2 separate regions of the Homo sapiens genome follow, and region 2 is linked to region 1. Evidence: promoter capture Hi-C in 16 types of primary human blood cells and fetal thymus (Javierre and others, 2016). All regions are on one chromosome and are shown on one strand. Each heading gives the region's core, a stretch centred on a gene start or on the middle of the fragment in contact. The rest is flanking DNA. Distances are from core to core; before and after follow the strand shown. Region 1 holds the start of ALG3 (ALG3 alpha-1,3- mannosyltransferase). Region 2 overlaps DVL3 (dishevelled segment polarity protein 3).

What was found. Contacts are between HindIII fragments. The CHiCAGO score rates a contact against its expected background, and 5 or more counts as called.
Region 2: a fragment that was not itself captured here is called in contact with the fragment with the promoter of ALG3 in region 1 in 1 of 17 cell types (naive CD4 T cells); the score reaches 5.2 in naive CD4 T cells.

Annotation. Positions count from the first base shown.
Region 1 is chr3:184,247,047-184,250,553 of GRCh38, reverse strand. It overlaps ALG3 (ALG3 alpha-1,3- mannosyltransferase), which reads left to right and starts at 1,592. Exons shown (of 9, transcript NM_005787.6): 1 at 1,592-1,809. The coding sequence starts at 1,614. It overlaps EEF1AKMT4-ECE2 (EEF1AKMT4-ECE2 readthrough), which reads right to left and starts at 882. Exons shown (of 19, transcript NM_014693.4): 1 at 664-882. The coding sequence starts at 859. It overlaps EEF1AKMT4 (EEF1A lysine methyltransferase 4), which reads right to left and starts at 882. Exons shown (of 3, transcript NM_032331.4): 1 at 664-882. The coding sequence starts at 859. RefSeq lists enhancers at 996-1,105, 1,136-1,195, 1,276-1,325, 1,524-2,267, 2,268-3,011. The HindIII fragment of the contact is 5,512 bases long and covers 1-3,507 here.
Region 2 is chr3:184,170,172-184,173,678 of GRCh38, reverse strand. It overlaps DVL3 (dishevelled segment polarity protein 3), which reads right to left. Exons shown (of 15, transcript NM_004423.4): 14 at 3,458-3,507; 15 at 65-3,360. The coding sequence ends at 2,924. Among named protein-coding and RNA genes, the nearest start is that of AP2M1, 2.9 kb to the left of the region's middle. RefSeq lists an enhancer at 1,844-2,138. The HindIII fragment of the contact is 3,938 bases long and covers 4-3,507 here.

The DNA of each region.
Region 1 (3,507 bases), core at 343-2,842:
CTAGGAGAGAACCTCAAGAGGTCAGCCGAACACCCCAGAGCCCTACCTTTCCTCCAGCACGTCTCCCTTTGGGGAATCGTATCACCCTGGGCGGCAATCTCCCCTCCACCCCTAGAGGGTGCTGTTCTCACTCTCTAAGGCATAGGACCAAGTTTCAGACAGGACTCTCTCTAGGTGACTCTGGCTCCCAGTGCCCAGGGGCAAAAAGAAAAGCGCTGGGCATTATTCTCGAGGTGCCTGCGCGTGCCGCCTCCGATGTGAACTCGCAGTACCATTTCTAGAACTGAATCTAAAGCTCAGAACGGGTTCATGACTTGTCCTAAGTTTTACAAGTCAATTAGCGCTAGGACTTGATCTCGGTCCTCTGAGCAATCCGGTCCCCAAGGCTGCCTGCCTCCCGAGGGTCCGGACAGGGTCTTGGGTACCCCCAACGCTCAAACTCTGAGGGACTGTCTTTCTCCAGAGGGCCCCGGGACCAACAATCTCTTACTCCTGTTAGCCTTGACTAAATACAGCCGGGACTCTGAAGGAGCTGGATCTCGCGTCCCAACGCAGGCGTCCTCCAAGAGGGATAGACAGGCGGGAGGAAAGCGGACCAGGCCAAGCCCATGCGGCGCCGGTCCTGCCAGCTCTACCTGGCGGGGCCGCGCCGGGATTACCCACCTAGCACAAGGATACGGTCCTCGGGCCGCAGCTCCGGCTCTAGGAGGGCACGGAAGGAGGAGAAGTCCCCGAACCAATCGTAGGGGGCAGAATCGGCTGCGCCTTGGTAGCGCTGATCCCAGTACTCGACTTCGCGGTACCCGCAGTTCCGCTCCGGTAACTCCGGAGGCGCCCTACCTGCCCCTGGAGAGGCCATGCTCTCAACCGCCGGGCAGCCAGAGCCGCCGGCCCTTCAGCCAATACGGAAGGCAGGATGCAGAAGGCGGGGCGCTGGTGTCTCCGCCCACCACCTGCAGTTGCTCAACACAAACACGTGGAACTTCCGTCCTTTACTAAGCGCTCTTCGAAGAATCCTCCGGCTGGGAAAACTATCGTCCAGACCCTGAATCCTCCGGCTGTACTGCCAAGTCATTTCCTAGGGCCGCACTCAAGGTGTCAGACTCACGTGGGCTCATCACTGCGTCCTCTCATATTTTCAATATGAATGACTTTTATCAGGAAATCTGAAAATTAGTGAAAGGTTCATTTTTCTCAGCATCCGGAAGGCTCGAAGGGCAGGCAGGAGGGGCGCGAACAGGGGCTTTGCCCTCCTGGAGAGACAGCATGAACACAGATGTTCCCAGCGCAGGCGAAGGAGAATGCTGGCTTCAGCGGTTGTGGGGGAGGTAGGCAGGAATGTTGCTTTTCTGGACATTCGTTCTAAATTAGCGCCTGTGTACCCAGGGCTGGGTATAAACTGAGGAGTAAGACATTGTCCCTGCTCCTATGGAGCGTGGAGTGCATCAGAGGAGACAAATGCAGAAAAATTACATTTTAGTGGAGTAAATGAAGACTGGCTACTCGGATCGGCGCTTAGCCTGGTGGGACGCCAGGCACGGGAAGCGGAACCTAAGTGTCGAAGGTTCGGGTTTCCGGGGGTGGTGGGCCCACACAAGCGGCGCACCGTTAAGATGGCGGCTGGGCTGCGGAAACGCGGCCGGTCCGGTTCCGCGGCCCAGGCAGAGGGACTCTGCAAGCAATGGCTGCAGCGCGCCTGGCAAGAGCGGCGCCTGCTGCTGCGGGAGCCGCGCTACACGCTGCTGGTGGCCGCCTGCCTCTGCCTGGCGGAGGTGGGCATCACCTTCTGGGTCATTCACAGGGTGGCATGTGAGTGCGCCGAGGGGGAGGGGAGGGGAGGGAGGGAGACCTGAACCCGCGACCCAAACTGGATCTCAGACCTGGAACTCCAAACCAGACTCTGTATCCACTCACTCGTCAATTGCGAACCCATCCATATCCCTTACCTGAGCGCCAAGCCTGCTCTACAGAAAACCGGATCTTAATCTGCCCGCATGGCAGAGGTGGATACCCTAGAGATTGGCCTTCTGCACTGAACTTACAGCCTGCAAACCAGCTTAGAAGTCAGATTTGAGCCAAAATTGTTGTACTGCTGCTGCTGCTGCTTTTCTCTGTGGCTTTGGACACCTCAGGTCTCCTCCTGGATCTCAGCTTTTTCCATGTGTTCAGTTCTGTGATCTTTGAACGTCCCTTCTCAATGATGGCATCTTGTGACCACTTGAGTCCATTAGGCATTATTGGCTACTCCTTTCCAGGCTGAAACTATACTCTAGGCTTAAGGCACTTGGCTTTCTTGCTAAAGACTCTTAATTCAACAAATATTTATTTAGTGCTTATTATATGCCTAGCATTATGCTGGTTACCAGAGAGAGGTACAGTGGTGAATAAGAGATGCATTTCTGCCGGGCGCGGTGGCTCACGCCTGTAATCCCAGCACTTTGGGAGGCCGAGGCGGGCGGATCACGAGGTCAGGAGATCGAGGCCATCCTGGCTAACACGGTGAAACCCCGTCTCTACTGAAAAAAAAAAAAAAAAAAGAATTTAGCCGGGCATGGTGGCGGGCGCCTGTAGTCCCAGCTACTCGGGAGGCTGAGGCAGGAGAATGGCGTGAACCCGGGAGGCAGAGCTTTCAGTGAGCCGAGATCACGCCACTGCACTCCAGCCTGGGCGACAGAGCAAGACTCCGTCTCAAAAAAAAAAAAAGAAAAAGGATGCATTTCTAACTCGGGCCTGGACAGTAAGTTAGCAGGCAATTATAATGCATCATAATCATGGTAGTAGTAACACAGGATACCATAAAGGGCATAGGAAGTCACTTAAACCAGGTTGGAGGAGTCAGCAAAGGCTTCATAGAGCCACCCTTGGAAGGTAGGAATTAGCTATTTAAGGAAAGAAGAAAAAGGTGAGGGGAAGGAGTGCTGTGGACAGAGGATCCTCTATTAAAAATCTCCAGCTAGGCTGGGCGCAGCGGCACACGCCTGTAATCCCAGCACTTTGGTAGGCCTAGGCGGGTGGATCTCCTGAGGTCAGGAATTTGAGACCAGCCTGGCCAACATGATGAAATCCTGTCTCTACTAAAAATACAAAAATTAGCTGGGCGTGGTGGCATATGCCTGTAATCCCAGCTACTCGGGAGGTTGAGACAGGAGAATTGCTTGAACCCGGGAGGTGGAGGTTGCAGTGAGCCGAGATTGCGCCACTGTACTCCAGCCTGGGTGACAGAGCAAGCTCCGTGTCAAAAAAAAAAAAAATTCAGTTAGACTGGGCACGGTGGCTCATGCCTGTAATCCCAGCACTTTGGGAGGCTGAGGTGGGCGGATCACTTGGGGGCAGGAGTTAAAGACCAGCCTGGCTGGGCACGGTGGCTTATGCCTGTAATTCTAGCACTTTGGGAGCCCGAGGCGGGCAGATCACCTGAGGTCAGGAGTTCAACACCAGCCTGGCCAATATGTTGACACCCTGTCTCTACTAAAATAGAAAAATTAGCTGGGCATGATGGCAAGTGCC
Region 2 (3,507 bases), core at 723-3,222, 77 kb after region 1:
GCTTTATCTTCCAAAAATACCCTAAACTGCTACCAATTTAGAGTAAATAATAATAATGATAAAATAATAATAATAATAGCTACCATTTATTGAGCACCTACTCTACTGTGTGCCAGGCACTGTGCTAGGCACTTTTCGTACAATATCTAATTTAAATCCTCACAACAACCCTGTGAGGTAGGTATTATTATCATCATTTTACATACGAGGGAACTGAGGCTCAGAGAGGTTAAATAACTCTATCACACAACCAAAAATAGTAGAGCTGGAATTCAAACCCAAAACCACCTAACTCCAAATCCCATGCTCCAATGAATTAAAGTAGAGAGGGGAGAGGGAGGGCCAAATTCAAGACAGAGTGTTGGAGTGAAATGGATATGATATGCTGATAAGATATGGGAAGAAGGAATGTAAGCTCATAAATGTTTCTAGCTGGTGAGCCTATGTAGATTGTGATGAAGTAACCAGGAGAGGAATTCAGGAGGAACATACTTGGTTGGGCAGATGAGTTGAGTCTATACGGAACTGTCCATAGAGATGTCCAGTAGGTAATACCAATACAGATCTAAAGTCTGGGGGAAGTTGGGGGTTGGAGCTATGTATTTGGGAATCACCAGCATATCAGCAGCAATTGAGGACATCAGGATGAATGACTCCATTTTGGGAGTAAATAGAAAGGAAAGAGAAGTGAATCAAAGATGGAACGATGGAAGCACTGATACTGACAGGCATGAGCAATCGTTGAGAAATTCTCAAGAGAGTCGGACAAGACAGAGTCAGAGAGAGAAGTACATGAAACAGCCCTGTAGTGGTGGCTAGAAGCCATGGACTGGGTTGGGAACAATTCTAGAGCTCCCAGAAGGCAGGCAAGATTGAGTCACACTTCCAACAAAGCCCTCTGCACACCAAAACCCCAGGAAGTATTGTTTTTCTTTGTTAGTTTGCTTTTGAGACAGAATCTCACTCTGTCACCCAGGCTGGAGTGCGATCTCAACTCACTGCAACCTCCGCTTGCTTCCTGGATTCAAGCGATTCTTGTGCCTCAGCCTCCTGAGTAGCTGAGATTACAGGCAGGTGCCAAAACACCCATCTAATTTTTGTATTTTTAGTAGAGACAGGGTTTTGCTATGTTGGCCAGGCTGGTCTCGAACTCCCGACCTCAAGTGATCCACCTGTCTCAGCCTCCCAAAGTGCTGGGATTACAGACGTGAGCCACCGCACCCGTCCAAGGAAGTATTGTTAATTGAAATAAATGCCAAAATGTTCCTACCTTGGTTTACCCCAAAACCTGGAGCTAAGAACTTCATCTCACTTTTGACACCCCAGCCCCCAAAATATGGAAGCCCAGGAGAGCCAGGAGAATTTATAGCAGAGGCTTAAAGAGAAAGTTATGATTTGTTTAAAGTAGAGAATAAGGTGAAAAATAAAACCTGGTACTCTGTCTGGAAGTCCTGGAAGTCTCCTTGCCCAACCTCAACTGGCCTGTGGGCTCCTGTGTCCTTGCTCTGGGATGCCATGGTGAATGTGAAAACAGGGGAGGTTGTGTGTGGGGGTGGGAATGGCCTGTCGGTTGCAAGGCGAGTCCTTTGCTGAGCCCAGCCTGAGACCCAGCTTATGGGCTTTATCCAGGTGAGAAAATGCTGGGGACATGTGTGCGAGGTTTAAGGTCTACCAGGAAGGGGAGAAGGGTGTCAGGGGACCAGCCCCACAACCTAGGAGAGGATTAGGAGGGTCCAGCCCTTTGGGCAGGGACCAGCCCTGAGGCTTAAATGAACTTGCATAGGCACCTGTGTATGCATCTCTGTGCATGTATGCATACATGAGTGAGAGAGAAAGATAAAGAGAGCTAAAGAGGCCCCCCTCCCCCCGCCGCAGGCTGCCACACGTGGTGCGATCCGATTCTCTCTGGAAAGGAGGAGAGTCTCTCATGCATGGGTGAAGTTGGGCCCTCCCCAGAAGCCTAGTGACTCATTATGTTAACGTGTGGGTGTGGGGGCTGGACATCCTTGGGAAGCCCTGAGGGGCTGCTGAAGCAGGGTTCCTGGTCTCCTCGGAGGCTGGGCCTCCCCTCGCTGGGGGCTCACAGAAAGTCAAACAGCCCGAAATTCTTGGCTGCTCCAGGCCCAGGGTAAATTGGGGGAGGAAAAAAGAAAGAAAAGAAATGTTTCAGGCCTGGAGGTGAGATGAGCCTGCTGGTTAGTAGGGTTAGGGGTCTGAAGGAACCAGCACGCAGGGCAGGCATGGGGCAGGGGTAGAGCAGAGATGCTCCCTGGAAGCCACCAGCTGCTCAGGCAACTGAGGGGGCCCTCTGGGCCTCTGATCTAGGCACAGGCAGGGATGGCATGGATGGCTATTGGAGGCGACTACAGCTTTAGGTTGCAGGACTGAGGCAGCAGGCAGGGGGATGGTTAGTAGGGGCAGATGAAGCAAATATATTTTGGTTTCAGTAATGTGGGGTAAAGTCAAGAGGTTTGCACACGTGCCTGATGGGGTGGGGTTAATAGAGGGATGATGTAGCTGAATAAATGGTGAAAGGGAGCTAAAGGGGAAACGAGAGAATGAGGGAGTGAGCGTGCCACCAAGGTCATTGCTGGGGTCAACTCCCAAAATGGGGGTTGCAGAGGGGAGTAAGGGGTAGCACCAACAAGTCTGGTCCCAGAGACAAAAGGGGTCCTGGGAAGTCCTGCGCAGGGATTAGTGGGCAGAGGAAACGAACTGGGGCCAGAGGCAGGTTAGGGGGCTGCAGAGCCAATCGGTAGGTGCACCCCACCCTCGCAGCACCCTGCGAGCAGTTAGCGCACCTGGATTTAGTTCCTTTTATTTCCCTTTCAGGTACCAGACAAAGTAAAAAAGACGGACGGATGGAGAGAGGAACGCAGCCGGCTGGGGTGGGAGCGGAATGGAGCTGGGGGAGGGGCCCTGCTCACATCACATCCACAAAGAACTCACTGGGGTTTCCCATGGCCATGCGGAAGGACTGTCTGCTGGCGGTCAGTTCCGGGGGCACTGAGGCCAGGTCGCGGCCCGGAGGGGCTCCTGGGGGCCCCATGGCCGCGGGCGGCGGGGGCATCATCAGCATGGGGGGGCCGTAGAGAGGGGGCACTCCGGGAGGACCGTAGCTCGGGTGTGTGTGGTGGCTGCGAAGGCTGCTGGCCAGGGAATGGTGGCTGCGGTGGCTGTGCTCGCTGGCCGCCGGCCCTGAGCGCTCGCTGGGCGCCCGCTCCCGCGGCCCCCGCAGGCTGCTGCGTGTGGTGTGGTCCGATTCGCTGCCGCTGCCCCCGGACTTGGAGTCCCCGGCCTTCGGGTCCTTCTCCTTCCTCCGATCGCTGCCGCTACGGTTGGAGCCACTGCTCCGACTGCCTGTAGGAGGCAAACAGGGCCGGGGTGGGGCAGGCTGAGCGGGCGGGGGAAGCCTGGGGCCCACCTATAGCCTTCCTCCACGGCCCCTCTACCTTACCTTCGCTGTGCTGACTGCTGGCGCTGCCCCCGCCGTAGCTGTAGCCCAGC